2 separate regions of the Homo sapiens genome follow, and region 2 is linked to region 1. Evidence: promoter capture Hi-C in human tissues and cell types (Jung and others, 2019). All regions are on one chromosome and are shown on one strand. Each heading gives the region's core, a stretch centred on a gene start or on the middle of the fragment in contact. The rest is flanking DNA. Distances are from core to core; before and after follow the strand shown. Region 1 holds the start of HAND2 (heart and neural crest derivatives expressed 2). Region 2 holds the start of LOC105377551 (a long non-coding RNA gene).

Region 1 (6,447 bases), core at 2,009-4,508:
CATTCACGCACACAGAATCTATGAGACGACGGGATCCCTTACCACACGGGAGTGTCCTCTTCGTATTAAAATATGGAATGCTTTTCTTCAAATATCCACTTTTTTTTTGGAGGGGGAGACGGGGAGCAGATGCCTCAAAGGGGGTCAAAGAGAGGGGAAGGAAATTGCACATAAATAAACCGGATGATTCCAAATGCAAGGAGTCCTCAGAGCGGAGCGCGGACGGCTTTTCCGGAGTCCTGGGTCTGCATCTGGCGCCTTGGCCCCTGCTCACTCGCGCTCTCCTCCTCCTCCTTCTCCTCCTCCTCACTGCTTGAGCTCCAGGGCCCAGACGTGCTGCGGCCAGCCCGTCCGGCCTTTGGTTTTCTTGTCGTTGCTGCTCACTGTGCTTTTCAAGATTTCGTTCTGGACAGAGGAAAGGCGAGGGCGAGAAAAGTGGAAAGAGAAATTCAGAGAGGATACCTGGTTCCACACCAACCCGGAGCTTCCTGCGCCGGAGGAGACAGTGAACCAGAGAGGAAAGGATACGATGGGGGAGTCCCAGCCCCTGCAGAGAAGCTACCAAGGTTAGCGCTACCCTAGCCGGCGGGGAGGCCTCGGCGCTGCAGCGCTCAACAACCGGATCCACAAGTTTATAAACAACCGCCCGTTTTCGAGTCGTTTATGGAGGAGCGGGGGGCCTTTTCTCTTACTCCAGATGTAGGGGCGGGAGCTGGAGTCGGCGCTAAGTCTGGTTTCTCTGTTTTCATTAGCAATCCTAGATCCACATCTAGGAAAAATAGGGCGAAGGAGCCTCTGTTTCGGCCTGGGCCTCTCGGCCAGAGGCTCTCGGCCTCCAGCTCAGCAGTGCCTCTCCTCCAAGGCTTCTGAAATCTCTGGTTATTCGGGAGGTCACTCGATTATGCAGCCACCAAAGGGCTGCAGGGGCCAAAGAAGAAAAATTCGACAAATGCAATTATTTTCCGGGCCCTTCGTGGACATAGCTCTATCCTGCACCACTGCCCTGTGGGCACTTGGTAGGAATCTGAGAAAATTTTAAGCGGCTCAATTTACTTTCGTGTTATTTTTAATAACAATGACCATAGTAATGCCTTTTCCCCCTTAAAATGTACAGGCTTATTCAAATAAAATTAGAAATGCCAATGGAATATACTCATCTGGGAAATTACATTTTAACGTCATAGCCAAGGAAAAATTGGAGCTGTATTTTGAAGTCAAAAGTACTTATTTTATGTTTACCATTACGTTTTCCGGGCATAGTATGAGAACAACCACAAAACTCAGGGCTCAGTCTCTGGCAGCCTCCTTCTGGGAGTGGGGTAGGGGGTGCGATCAATAGTGAAATAATTGGAATCAAGGGCTTCTTCGAGACTTATTCTGGAAACATCTGAAAGCAAGATTGGATTGGAGGCCAAAAGAAGGGTCTAACAGAGACGGGGTGAGGCATCCAGACCAGTGCGATCGCGATCGATCGCGACCCAGAGTTTTCAAGGTCCGTCCTAAGTACTAGGGGAGCAGCGATAACCCGGAGGTAAGATCACCAGCGCAAAGCATCCCTAACCTTCTCCTCCTCCTGCTGACACCCTCCCCTCAACTCTCTGCTTATGCCGGAAGCCATCCTTACACAACCTGGTGCAAACAACCTTGAAGCGGGACGCAGCCAAAGAACACGAGATGCCATTTCTCAGCCCAATTGGAAAGAGGCCGGGAGCACCAGTTCCCTGACCCCCTCAGCCCCACCGCCTGCCGCCCCCTGGTACTGACCAGCTCCTTCTTCCTCTTCTCCTCTTTCACGTCGGTCTTCTTGATCTCTGCCTTGAAGGCCTCCGCCTCGCCATTCTGGTCGTCCTTGGCCAGCAGGTCCATGAGGTAGGCGATGTAGCTGGTGGCCAGGCGCAGGGTCTTGATTTTGGAGAGTTTGGTGTCGGCGGGTACGTTGGGGATGCACTCGCGCAGTTCGGCGAAGGCGCTGTTGATGCTCTGAGTCCTGCGCCGCTCCTTGCGGTTGGCGGTGCCTCGGCGCTTCACCGGGCGCGGCCCCCCCAGGCCCGGGGGCCCGGCGCCCGGCGGCACCCCCCCGTAATGGGAGTGGTCCAGGCCGGCGGCGCCGCTGGCATACTCGGGGCTGTAGGACAGGGCCATGCTGTAGTCGGGGGGCGACATCTCGGGGTGGCCGATGAGCCAGCCATGGAAGTAGGGGTTCTCCTCATGGCTGCAGCGGCTGGCGGCGGCGGCGGCAGCTGCGGCGGCGGCGGCGGCAAACGGGTAGCCCTCGTGGTGCACCACCGGGTGGTGGGGAAAACCACCTACCAGACTCATTTCGCCCTCCGCGCCCCTCCACGCGCCCCAGCGTGCGCGCAGCCCCGCCGCGCCCTCGGCCCGGGCCCCTGCCTCAGCGCTCGGCGTCCTCCCCCACCCCCCACCCCCCAGCCCCCGGGCGCCCGGGCCCGCCCGGCAGCCGCAGAGGGGGCTGCTGCAGCCCGGGCCCCGTCCCCCCGCCTGGCCAGCCGGGCCCGCCTCAGCAGCGCTGCGGCCGCCGGCTCCCCATGGGGCGCGGCGAGCTGGTCCTGGCACCGTGCGCCCCTGGCCGCCGCCGCCGCCGCCTCCGGTTCCCGCCTTGCTCCACGGCCCGCGCTTCGGCTCCTGCTTCCCGGGCTGCTGCGCGGAGGCAGAATCCTCTCGTGCTCATACAAAGGTGCCGGGGCTCCCGCGAGGCTGGTACGCGGAGTCTCGGGAATCCAAGCCCGGGCCGCGGTCCTGGCACCGAAGCTAACCCGGAATCCAGGGGCGAGTCTGAGCCGCGGCTGGAGGAGCCGGTCCAGCTGTGCCGGGGGGCGGCGGGGTCGACTGCTCACTGCAAAGCTACCTCCGTGCGACCCTCCCCTTCCCGCCTCTTCCCCTCCCCCCACCAGCCCGATCTGGGTTCTTGGGCGCTTATTGTTTTAATGAAATTTTTGGTTGTTGTTGTTTTGGTCCTTAAATGTGATTTTAGCTGCGAGTAACGTGTCCTCGCTCCTCTCGCGCTCTCTCGGAGGGTTTTCAGAGAGGTCTCAGTGCATCCATTTTCTCAGATCCTCTCCTTTCGGGGCAAGGATCTGGGGCCCTGAATGAGCCTTGGAGCTCGAAGACCGCGGCTCGGGCTCTCGGAGGGCTCTGCGCGGTGGCCGAGGAAGCTCCGGGGTGACGGCGGTGGTTCTCCTGGGCTGGACGACGTGAGGGGAGCAAGCGGATTTTCCCAGCAAGATCTCCATGTACAGCTACATCTTTAGGGCCGCTCGGGTTAATATATGTCGTCAGAGGCTCCTCACGCCAATCCCGGGGCGGCAGGGGCGGCGCCTCGAGCTCTCGGCAATAAAACTTTTTGATGTTCACGTTGCTAATTGCCGAGGTCCTCTTCCAGGATTGGCTACCTCCTCATAACCATAAGATAATTAAAACTTGGCGGGGGGGGGGGGCAGGGTTAAAAAAACTTTTTTTATCAGTCAGAGGATAATGCAAGTGTTTAACAGATGCTTCACTATTAAAATATTTTCCCCCCAAGTCTCAAATATTGAAGAATCTCTAACCAGGTACAGTATCACTCTGCTCTCTTTTCTGGTTGAAAAGAAAGAAAGAAAGAAAACGCAGGTATTGCTTTTCGAAGTGCTTTGTAGGTAATCGAGGTAAGAAAATATACGCAGGCAGCCTCTTACAATTTTATGCAGGGGCGCCGGGAGCCTCGTGACGGGCGGTGGGGGCCCCCACAAAGGCGCGGCTGGGAGCTGGCGCTCTTTGCCCCAGCAGGGACGAGGAGCGGCTGGAGAAGGGTGTTTCTTTGACCCGTTTACAGGCTCGAAACGCCGGTCTCAGTGGCTATTGAGTTACCCACCAAGTTACCCCGGTTAGAGCTGTTTGGGGTGGCTCACGTTATTGCGGCAAACTTTGGAGATGACGGCTGAGTCCTCCGGGCGAACATGTCAAGCCGATTGTAAATGCTGTTATTTCCACATCCTTCAGGGACACCAGTCCCTACGAAGACCTTGGGCGATTTTGAAGTGCGGGCACCTCGATTCCCCGAATCTGTAGTGTGGCTGGTATCGGTGTTCCCCTGGTTTAACTAGCCTGTTTGGTAAGTAACTGAATATTTTTTACGGCGTGTTCAGAGCTTATTTTCCAGTTTTTATGAACAAACATATAAATATATCTCTGCATTCCTGCCTCCCTCATAAAAGCGGGCATCTGTGGAAAGCAGGTTTAGTTATCGGAGGGGAACCATTAAACGCCAGTTTAAGAGGCAGGCCGGGAGGACGGCTCGTGGATGTTGAGACTGCTGGCCTTGGTGATCTTGAACGCATTATAACGGAAAATGGATCTCCACTTGTAAGTCACCGGGCCGCGGGGCACCCGGGCCGCAGCGCCCGTGTGGCATGAGCTTCTTGAGAAGGCTCACGTGCGGCGAGGGCGGGTGGTAAATGGCAGGAGCTGAAATCACCCCAGGCTTGGCCCCAAGCCGAGAGGGGAGGCTGATGTGTATATGCAGATTCCACCCGAAGGAGTTCGGTGTGGAAAACGGTGTCAACAGGAGCCCGCGGGCTGTAAATTAGAGGGAGGCGAGGGCCTGCGGCGCCAGCGCGGGACAGGGCGGCCTGGGGCTCGCCGCTGGTCAGGCCAGGTTAGCCCAAGGGAGACCAAAGACTCCACCTTGAGCATCGCCCTTTGGAGGCGGGCAGAGTCCGGCCGCAGGCCACAAAGCGATCCCCACCCGAAGGACTCCACAAGGACAGTCCTTTCCTTGCTCACCGCCGACAAAGTGGTTGGGGCAGGAAGGCGAGGTCAGTGCGAATGGAGGGCGCCCAACTTCGGTGTTGCAGTTGACTCTGTGCTCGGGCTCTGCCCTCCACTAGCCCTAGAGTCTTGGGCAGCAGGATTGAGAAATATATATATTTCAGGTTTGCCGCGGCTGGGCGGTAGGAGACAGGGACTTAAAAGCCCAGGATTAGAGTCGGTGCAGGGCCCATTCTTTTTCTAGGAAAGGGGTTAACATCCTTGAACGTCCCCAGACAAGCGTCTTAAAGCATTGAACCTAGAATAGGGATTAACTGAAACTAGGCTCGTTGGTAAGCGCCAGGGGCTTGCAGTTGAGCTCGGAACAAAATAGTGACCTACTGCTCTAAACCCCCAACTTGCGTGGGTCTGCAATTTTTTAGCACAAGGAGAGCCTTTTAAAGACCTGGTTCTTCAAGGAAAGAATGCAGGTAGTGTGGTTGGGGGTTCTGTTTACATTTTCACCCGGAGGCAAACCCCGAATGTGTAAATACTGGTAGTTCAATTCTCTGACATTTGATACGTTTTTGAAAAGTCTGTTTATAAAAACACATTTAGGCCTTGGGAGCAGGTAGACAAAGTAAGATTGCACTGGGGCTGGGAACATATAAAAATTCAGGGAAATTAGTTGGTTGGCTGCTTTAAGACCCAAAGGGAGTTTTGGGAATTGAAGGGAGGAAGAAGAGTCCAGAGGAGGGCTGAGTTAGGGATTGAGATGCTCTGTCCACCAGAGACCAGCGGTGAGTGGCCTCACTTTTGAAAGCTTCAGAACTTGCCACATTTAGCTTTTCTCATGCTTTTAATTGAAACAAACAAACAAACAAAAATGAATGAATTACCTCGTGGCTCCAGATAGCATTGCAAGTGGTAAAGGAAATGGACAACATGGTACAGAAAAAAGAAATCATAAAAGATGCTAATCTGAACATCAGTTCTCACTCACAGTGTCATTATCAGTTAACTGCTGTGGTCCAAGGGCCTAAGACTTGATGTGGCTCAGAAACCCAAATCCAGAGGTCACTGCCTTAGAAAGCTGGCTTGATGAGAGGGGACAAATGGATGAACCCTAGTGGTGTCCCCAACTGTAGTAACTGACTCAGGGAGGCCAGGCTGGCCCTGACTGGTTGAGCTCTACCCTAAATGCACAAACGCATCCACTTTTCTCTTGCAGTGTCCTTTGGCCTGTTTTGTTCCAGGTTTTCCAGGATACTGGGTTAGCCTGCTCCTTTGGGAAGTTGTGAAGCAAGGATGCCATCTCAAGTTTGCCCTCAATTTAGGTGTCCTGGGCATCCTGGTGGTAGTGATGGAGGTGTTGGCAGTGGTGGCAATGAAGGAGAGGGTGGTGTTGGTGATGAGAGGGAAAGTGGGAGAAGAAAGGGAGAAAGGCACAGTCCCTGACATCGATGTCAGCATGGGGACCCCACTCCTGGGCTGCACTAGTGTAGCTGCTGATGCACATGTTGTAAGTACTCAAAGGCCCAGGGAACTGGCTTGCTGGGGGCTCCTCTGGGTGCCTGTGGAGGAATCTTAGCTAGGAGTGCTTCTCTGCCTCTCCTCAGAGGCTGAGGGCTGAGCCAAAACCGGCCTTACTCGTGTCCAGAAACTGCTTCACAAGGAGGCAGCCCAGGTTTGGGTGAGTGTTTG
Region 2 (6,447 bases), core at 1,853-4,352, 1.1 Mb after region 1:
GTATTGGAAACAAGAATATTTTGTAAGTTTTTTTGAGGTATACACCAGCTATTGTTTACATGAGACTTATTCAGATTGGTATGAAATGTTCCTAATTCAAATTTCAACCAGGATCACACTTAATTTTATAATCATGTGTCGGAATGCTTAAAGTAATGAGCTTCTGAAGGCTTACAGCCTTACACCCCATTGGCCATGTCTTAATGACAACACAATGAGACTTAATGTTTCTTTTCATGAAACATCCATCTGAGAGCAACAATTTTGTTGAAAGCTTTAAATTAATTTATGCCATTCATTATTTTTTTTTCTGAAAGTTTAGTCCCTTTGTGCCAAGCATGTCGTCTTTAGTTGACTGTAGCATGTTGTTTTCATGTAAGCTTTTATTTTCTCATTCAATGTCCTATGCACTTAGTATTTTCCATCATTTCCTTGTTCTGTCCCTTCTGATTCTGGACATTATTTCTAAGCAGATACATGAAACATATCACTCACAGAATTCTTGGTATTAACCATATCATGGGTTACATAGCAAGAAAGGTCAAGGAGATTAGGAACAAATTAAAGTTTAAAAAACTTAGATTGTAAACTCCATAAATACATAAAACTGAAAATTAACCTGTAACTAAGTAATAAGGAAGCTTAATTAATAGGATTTTTATTAGATTTGCTTTCTTGGATTTAATATTTGATAGGAAAAGTAAATTAAGCATTTATATTTACTACTTGTATACTCCTGTATATCCATAATCACACAATAAAAATTGTGCTTATATTGTCTTTTGTCATTTAAATTCTCATTTTTCAAAACATACAATTTTACCAAGTTCTTAAAAATGTCCAATAGTAGGAATTTATATTCCAATGGCTGAGATTATTTTAATAATTTTCTCTGTATCTTTATAATAAACCTTTATCACCCAAATTAATCCAAGTGTGGCTTTGTTTCTTACAGTCCAAATCTAACTAATAAAAATGCAATCTGGTTTTATTTCATTTTAACAGACACCATTTTATTTTTTTACAAAAATAGGTTCTTATATAATACTGAATTTTTAAAAATCAAGTAAAAATACCCATTCTCCAAGCATATAGGTTGATAGAATTTTAACTATGTTATGTTTATAGAGTACTTGCTTAGTAAATTACATAATAATTTTAATACAAGACAATTATATGCTACTGCCTTAAAATGTCCATACCAAGTAACAATGGATATATTTACATCATGGACAATGTCTAGTACATTCCCTGGATCCAATACATATATTTTAAAATAGTTGAATATGCTATAATATTTTGACCAATCATACAGTTATGACTCAATCAAAAAGCATCTGAGGAGTATAATGACTGGGTTATTTTCATATTACAGAAGGAAAAACACATGAGATACACAGTATCTCAGATTGTCCTCTTATCAGCTAAATGGCCCTGTATAATAGGAAAAACAGGAGAGAATATAATTCTCAAAAATATGAGGAGAGCTGGCTGCAGTTGCATGTGCCTATGATCTCAGCTACTCTGAAAGCTGAGGTGGAAGAATCACTTCAGCCCAGGAGTTTGAGGCTGCAGTGCACTGTGACCGTGCCTGTGAGCCTGGGAATGGCCACTGTGCTCCAGCCTGGGCAACAAAGTGAGACCCTGTCTCCAAAAGAAAAAAAAAAAAAGAAACTGAGACTCAAATATCATTGAGGATTGTTTCTTTTGAACACTTTATATCTATATTCAATTTTTTAAAAATTTATTTTCTGAGATGACTGTCGAGTTACATCAAGTTTTGAGTCGTCATTTTTAGAGTCTTGTTAACAGAATTGATTGACCATTTTAGCCCAAACAGTTGAACCATGATTGCTTGTAGATGGCGTTTTTACCTATTTATTCTTGCCCAGAAGAGTGCTCTGCACCATGTGGTCCCAACAATGCTTCTAATCATTGTATTTCTAAATGCTGTGACAAGAATGAACAAGAGCTGTTATGTTCATGCAATAGAGTATTATCCTACCATAAAAAAGAAATAAAATAGTGATACATGCTGCAACAAGGATGAACTTTAAAAACATTATGCTAAGTGAAACAAGCCATACACAAAAGGCCATGTATTACATGAGTTCATTCAAATGAAATGTTCAGAAATAGATAGATCAGTGGTTACCAATGGGTAAGGGAAGGATGGGAGGGAATGGGGAATGACTGGAAATGCATATGAGGTTTCTTTTTAGGGTGATGACATATTTTGGACTTAGATAGTCGTGATGTTTATGTAACTCTGTGAATATACAAAGACCCAATGAATTGTACATTAAAAAAATGTGGCATCTGCATTATACCTCAATAAAAGTGTTATAAAAGTTACTTAGAGCTATGTTTTCATTTCTTGACTATTAAGCATTGATTGATTCAATATGTGTCTCTTTTTTGCAATTTATTAATAATGTATTTTTTTGTGACAATCATAGTATTAAAGTTGTTTGAATTGGAAACCCTTTAATCAGGCTATAATTGAAATAGTACTCTAGGAATAATGCTGGTGACAGTTTTGAGTTAAGATAATCTGTTTCAATAAATGTTATTGAAGATGTGATGTATGGCAAATAATTTATTTATGTGAATGAGCAAAATAAAATAGAAGCGCTATACTTAAGTAAACATAGGAAGAGTTTTTTTACTATTATTATACTTTAAGTTCTGGGATACACGTGCAGAACGTGCAGGTTTGTTACATAGGTATACAAGTGCCATGATGGTTTGCTGCACCCATCAACCTGTCATCTACATTAGGTATTTCTCCTAATGCTATCCCTCCCCCGGCCCCCTACCCCCTGACAGGCCCCGGTGTGTGATGTTCCCCTCCCTGTGTCCATGTGTTCTCATTGTTAAACTCCCACCTATGAGTGAGAACATGCCGTGTTTGGTTTTCTGTTCCTGTGTTAGTTTGCTGAGAATGATGGTTTCCAGCTTCATCCATGTCCCTGTAATGGACATTAACTCATCCTTTCTATGGCTGCATAGTATTCCATGGTGTATATGTGCCACATTTTCTTTATCCAGTCTATCATCGACGGGCATTTAGGTTGGTTCCAAGTCTTTGCTATTGTGAACAGTGCTGCAATAAACATATGTGTGCATGTGTCTTTATAGTAGAATGATTTATAATCCTTTGGGTATATAACCAGTGATGGGATGGCTATGTCAAATGGTATTTCTGGTTCTAGATCCTTGAGGAATTGCCCCACTTTCTTCCACAATGGTTGAACTAATTTACACTCCCACCAACAGTGTAAAAGCATTCCTATTTCTCCACATCCTCTCCAGCATCTGTTGTTTCCTAACTTTTTAATGATCACCATTCTAACTGGCATGAAATGGTATCTCATTGTGGTTTTGATTTGCATTTCTCTAATGACCAATGATGAGCTTTTTTTCATATGTTTGTTGGCTGCATAAATGTCTTCCTTTGAGAAATGTCTGTTCATATCCATTGCCCACTTTTTGAAGGGGTTGTTTATTTCTTGGAAATTTGTTTAAGTTCCTCGTAGATTCTGGATATTAGCCCACTGTCAGATGGATAGATTGCCAAAATTTTCTCAACATGTAAAGAGTTTTAATAGGCCAATGTATGCCATGGCGGAACTTAGTTTGTGTTTCCTGTCTTCGGGAATACCAACTTTACACTCTGCAACTGGGTCTATTGAAGAATACTCATAATTACAAGAATAGATTAGCACAGAGAACGGGCAACCCCTGACATTTGCTGCTAGTTCCATAAGTTTTAAACCAATTCCATTTTATTTTGGTGACACAACTGATAAATAAAGTCCTCCTAAATGGACATTTTATCCCTCTTACAGCTACCCTCGTGGTTGAACTATTTATAAACTATTCCTTTACATGCAAGTGGTTGCATCTTACTATTAATAATTATGTTGTTTATTATTTAGTGTACTTTAGGGTTTTCCCCCTTTCCCAAATGAAACCATTTTTCAATCAATTTGTCTTAGATAGGAGAAGTAAACTTTTTCCTATTTTATACAGTTCCTTTCTAGGTAGCTTCCAAACGAATGCCATTCTTACAGTCTTCTTAAAGTTTTCTTACACACAGATTGCATGCTATCTTTATACTATTTCTGTATGAGATTTCTCTTATCTTGGCCACAGCTAATGAAACCAGGAGTGGTTATGTAAACCAAACTAAGTCAACTTATAAAGTGGCTAAAAGATTGAGAGGTAGCCCAGATGCAAAACTCTGCCCAATAGAGGGAGGCTATATTGGAATGTGGCCAAAGCAATTAAATTCTTGTTTTTGGAGGGTCTGACTAGGGGATCTACTGAGGAGGTTAGCATTTGGTGGTGAGAGAAGAAGCTGAAAGTGATTGTAGAGAAACTACAAGTCAGGTGAAGACTTTCTCCTACTCCTCTCAGTAGTTGTAGAGTAGGAAGTAGTGTATGCTTGCTCTCAGGGTCTAATCAGGTAGTTAATTATTGCTAGTGTTTTGGTGTATATTTTAAATGACTTTCCAGTATCTAGAAATACTGGCTTTCCCATGCTTCAATCACTATTATTTACACAAATACTTATCAAGTGCCTACAGGCCAAGTGCATATTCCAAATCAGGATACATTAATGAACAGTAGTGCACTCACCTTCCTGGAGTTTATATCCCAATGGCCAAGATTATTTTCATCATTTTTTCTGTATCTTAATAATTAACTTGTATTACCTGAATTAATCCAAGTGAGCATTTGTTCCTTGTAGTCTGAGTTTAACAAATAAAAATGTGATTTGTTTATTTCATTTTAACAGGCAGTCTTATATGTGTGTCTTTTACAAATATTGATTCATTGAAGTTTCATGACAATTTTTAAAAGTATCCACATTTTAATAAGGGGAAATAAAGGCAAAAAGAGGTTTAAAAATTGCCTAAAGTAGATGCTGCTAGTAGTACCACCTATTACTAGCAGATGGTGCAAACAGCTTTTTAATTTAGGTAGTTTGGCTCCAACAGTCTCTTAATCACTTTTCTATGCTACCTTTTAAAACAATTTTGGTAGAATTCCCTTTGTGTTCTCAGTAATTACATTTATATGGATATGATTTTATAATCCAATACTCATCTTTTGTCTCCTAATTTCATTTTTCTTGAGGATAGGTGTCCTATTCAGTCTTGAATACACATCATCACAACTATCTACAGCTAGAGGACTACAAATACTATAGGATGATGAGGTGACAATATTATTGGTTACCTTGTCACCAGTTACATCAACAGGTACTAACTGTTCTTTGAAATCTTTCTAGAACCATCAATCACTGTAGAAGCACATATTATTGTATACAGTGACATCATCATGAATCGCAGTGATTTCCAAAGGGATATGTGCAATATTAACATATCTTTTATATGCCATAAGTTCTGAATCATAGGGGTGAATTGACATAATACAGTTAGCCTCCAGATACTACAGTAATTCTTCTGCAAGATGACTTACGTTGTTATATAATATCACTGAGAAAGTTTTCAATGTCATTCTCACCTTTGCTATGTGTAAATCTCTATTGGTTTGGATACACTTTTTTTTTTTTCATTTTCTTTAGGTTGTTTTACTACGTAAAATTGTGTGAAAAGGTTGAAAACGTGGATACTTGAAACCCGTATGCAACATCTGGTTGACCTCATTCTGCCTCCTCAATGTATAAAAGTGTGATAAACACCATATACAAAGTATTATATTCACACTCATTACTGACAAGCATATTTTGAATATGATTTACCTTCCCATTTTTGTTTCAATGATTGAATCTTGATGTAATTTGCCAAGATCCCAGAATCTACCGCAGATGTTTTTGATATTTACCCACTAGCCCCACTGGGACAATGATTGTTAAAATTCAAAGTTGCACATATTCTATTGTAATTCATTGGTGTAAAAGGATTAAAATGTTCAAAATGTTTCAGGTGGCTTTCAAAGTTATCCCCTGAAGTGTGAACTCGTTACCAAGGAAACACATTGCAAATGTTAGTAAATCTTTCACTGACTTGCTTTTTACACGTCCCCATGGTTGGCGTGTATGCTGAGCCCATTTAGCACAGTGCTGCTGGCAGCTTCCATTCCTGTTATGTTTATAAATACATCCGAGCCTCACAAAAAAACTAGGCAGAATTGCTTGGAGAAAATTCTTCTGGTTTTCTTTGGAGTGAGAGAGCAAAAAATCAGAGGATCACATTGATTCGAAATGGCTTCGCCAGGTTAAAAAATCTGGCGTGATAGAGTTGGAGGGAATTTGGGGGAACACCAAACAGTAAAACAAACTCAGCAATTGTCATGACAATAATATTTAGACTAAATCATAATACATCATCTGGATTGATAATAATATTTAGACTAAATCATAATAAATCATCTGGATAATTGCAAATTTGAGTGGTGATAATTTTGGGAACATGT

What was found. Contacts are between HindIII fragments. The study calls those that stand out against the background at their distance.
Region 2: a fragment that was not itself captured here is called in contact with the fragment with the promoter of HAND2 in region 1 in 1 of the 25 tissues and cell types used here (lymphoblastoid cells).

What each region holds. Positions count from the first base shown.
Region 1 is chr4:173,526,971-173,533,417 of GRCh38, forward strand. HAND2 (heart and neural crest derivatives expressed 2) reads right to left here and starts at 3,259. Exons shown (of 2, transcript NM_021973.3): 1 at 1,765-3,259; 2 at 1-405. The coding sequence starts at 2,319. The coding sequence ends at 307. It overlaps HAND2-AS1 (HAND2 antisense RNA 1), which reads left to right and starts at 3,401. Exons shown (of 5, transcript NR_136196.1): 1 at 3,401-3,569; 2 at 3,997-4,108. The HindIII fragment of the contact is 12,639 bases long and covers 1-6,447 here.
Region 2 is chr4:174,622,320-174,628,766 of GRCh38, forward strand. It overlaps LOC105377551 (a long non-coding RNA gene), which reads left to right and starts at 308. Exons shown (of 4, transcript XR_939494.3): 1 at 308-5,270. The HindIII fragment of the contact is 6,340 bases long and covers 1-6,272 here.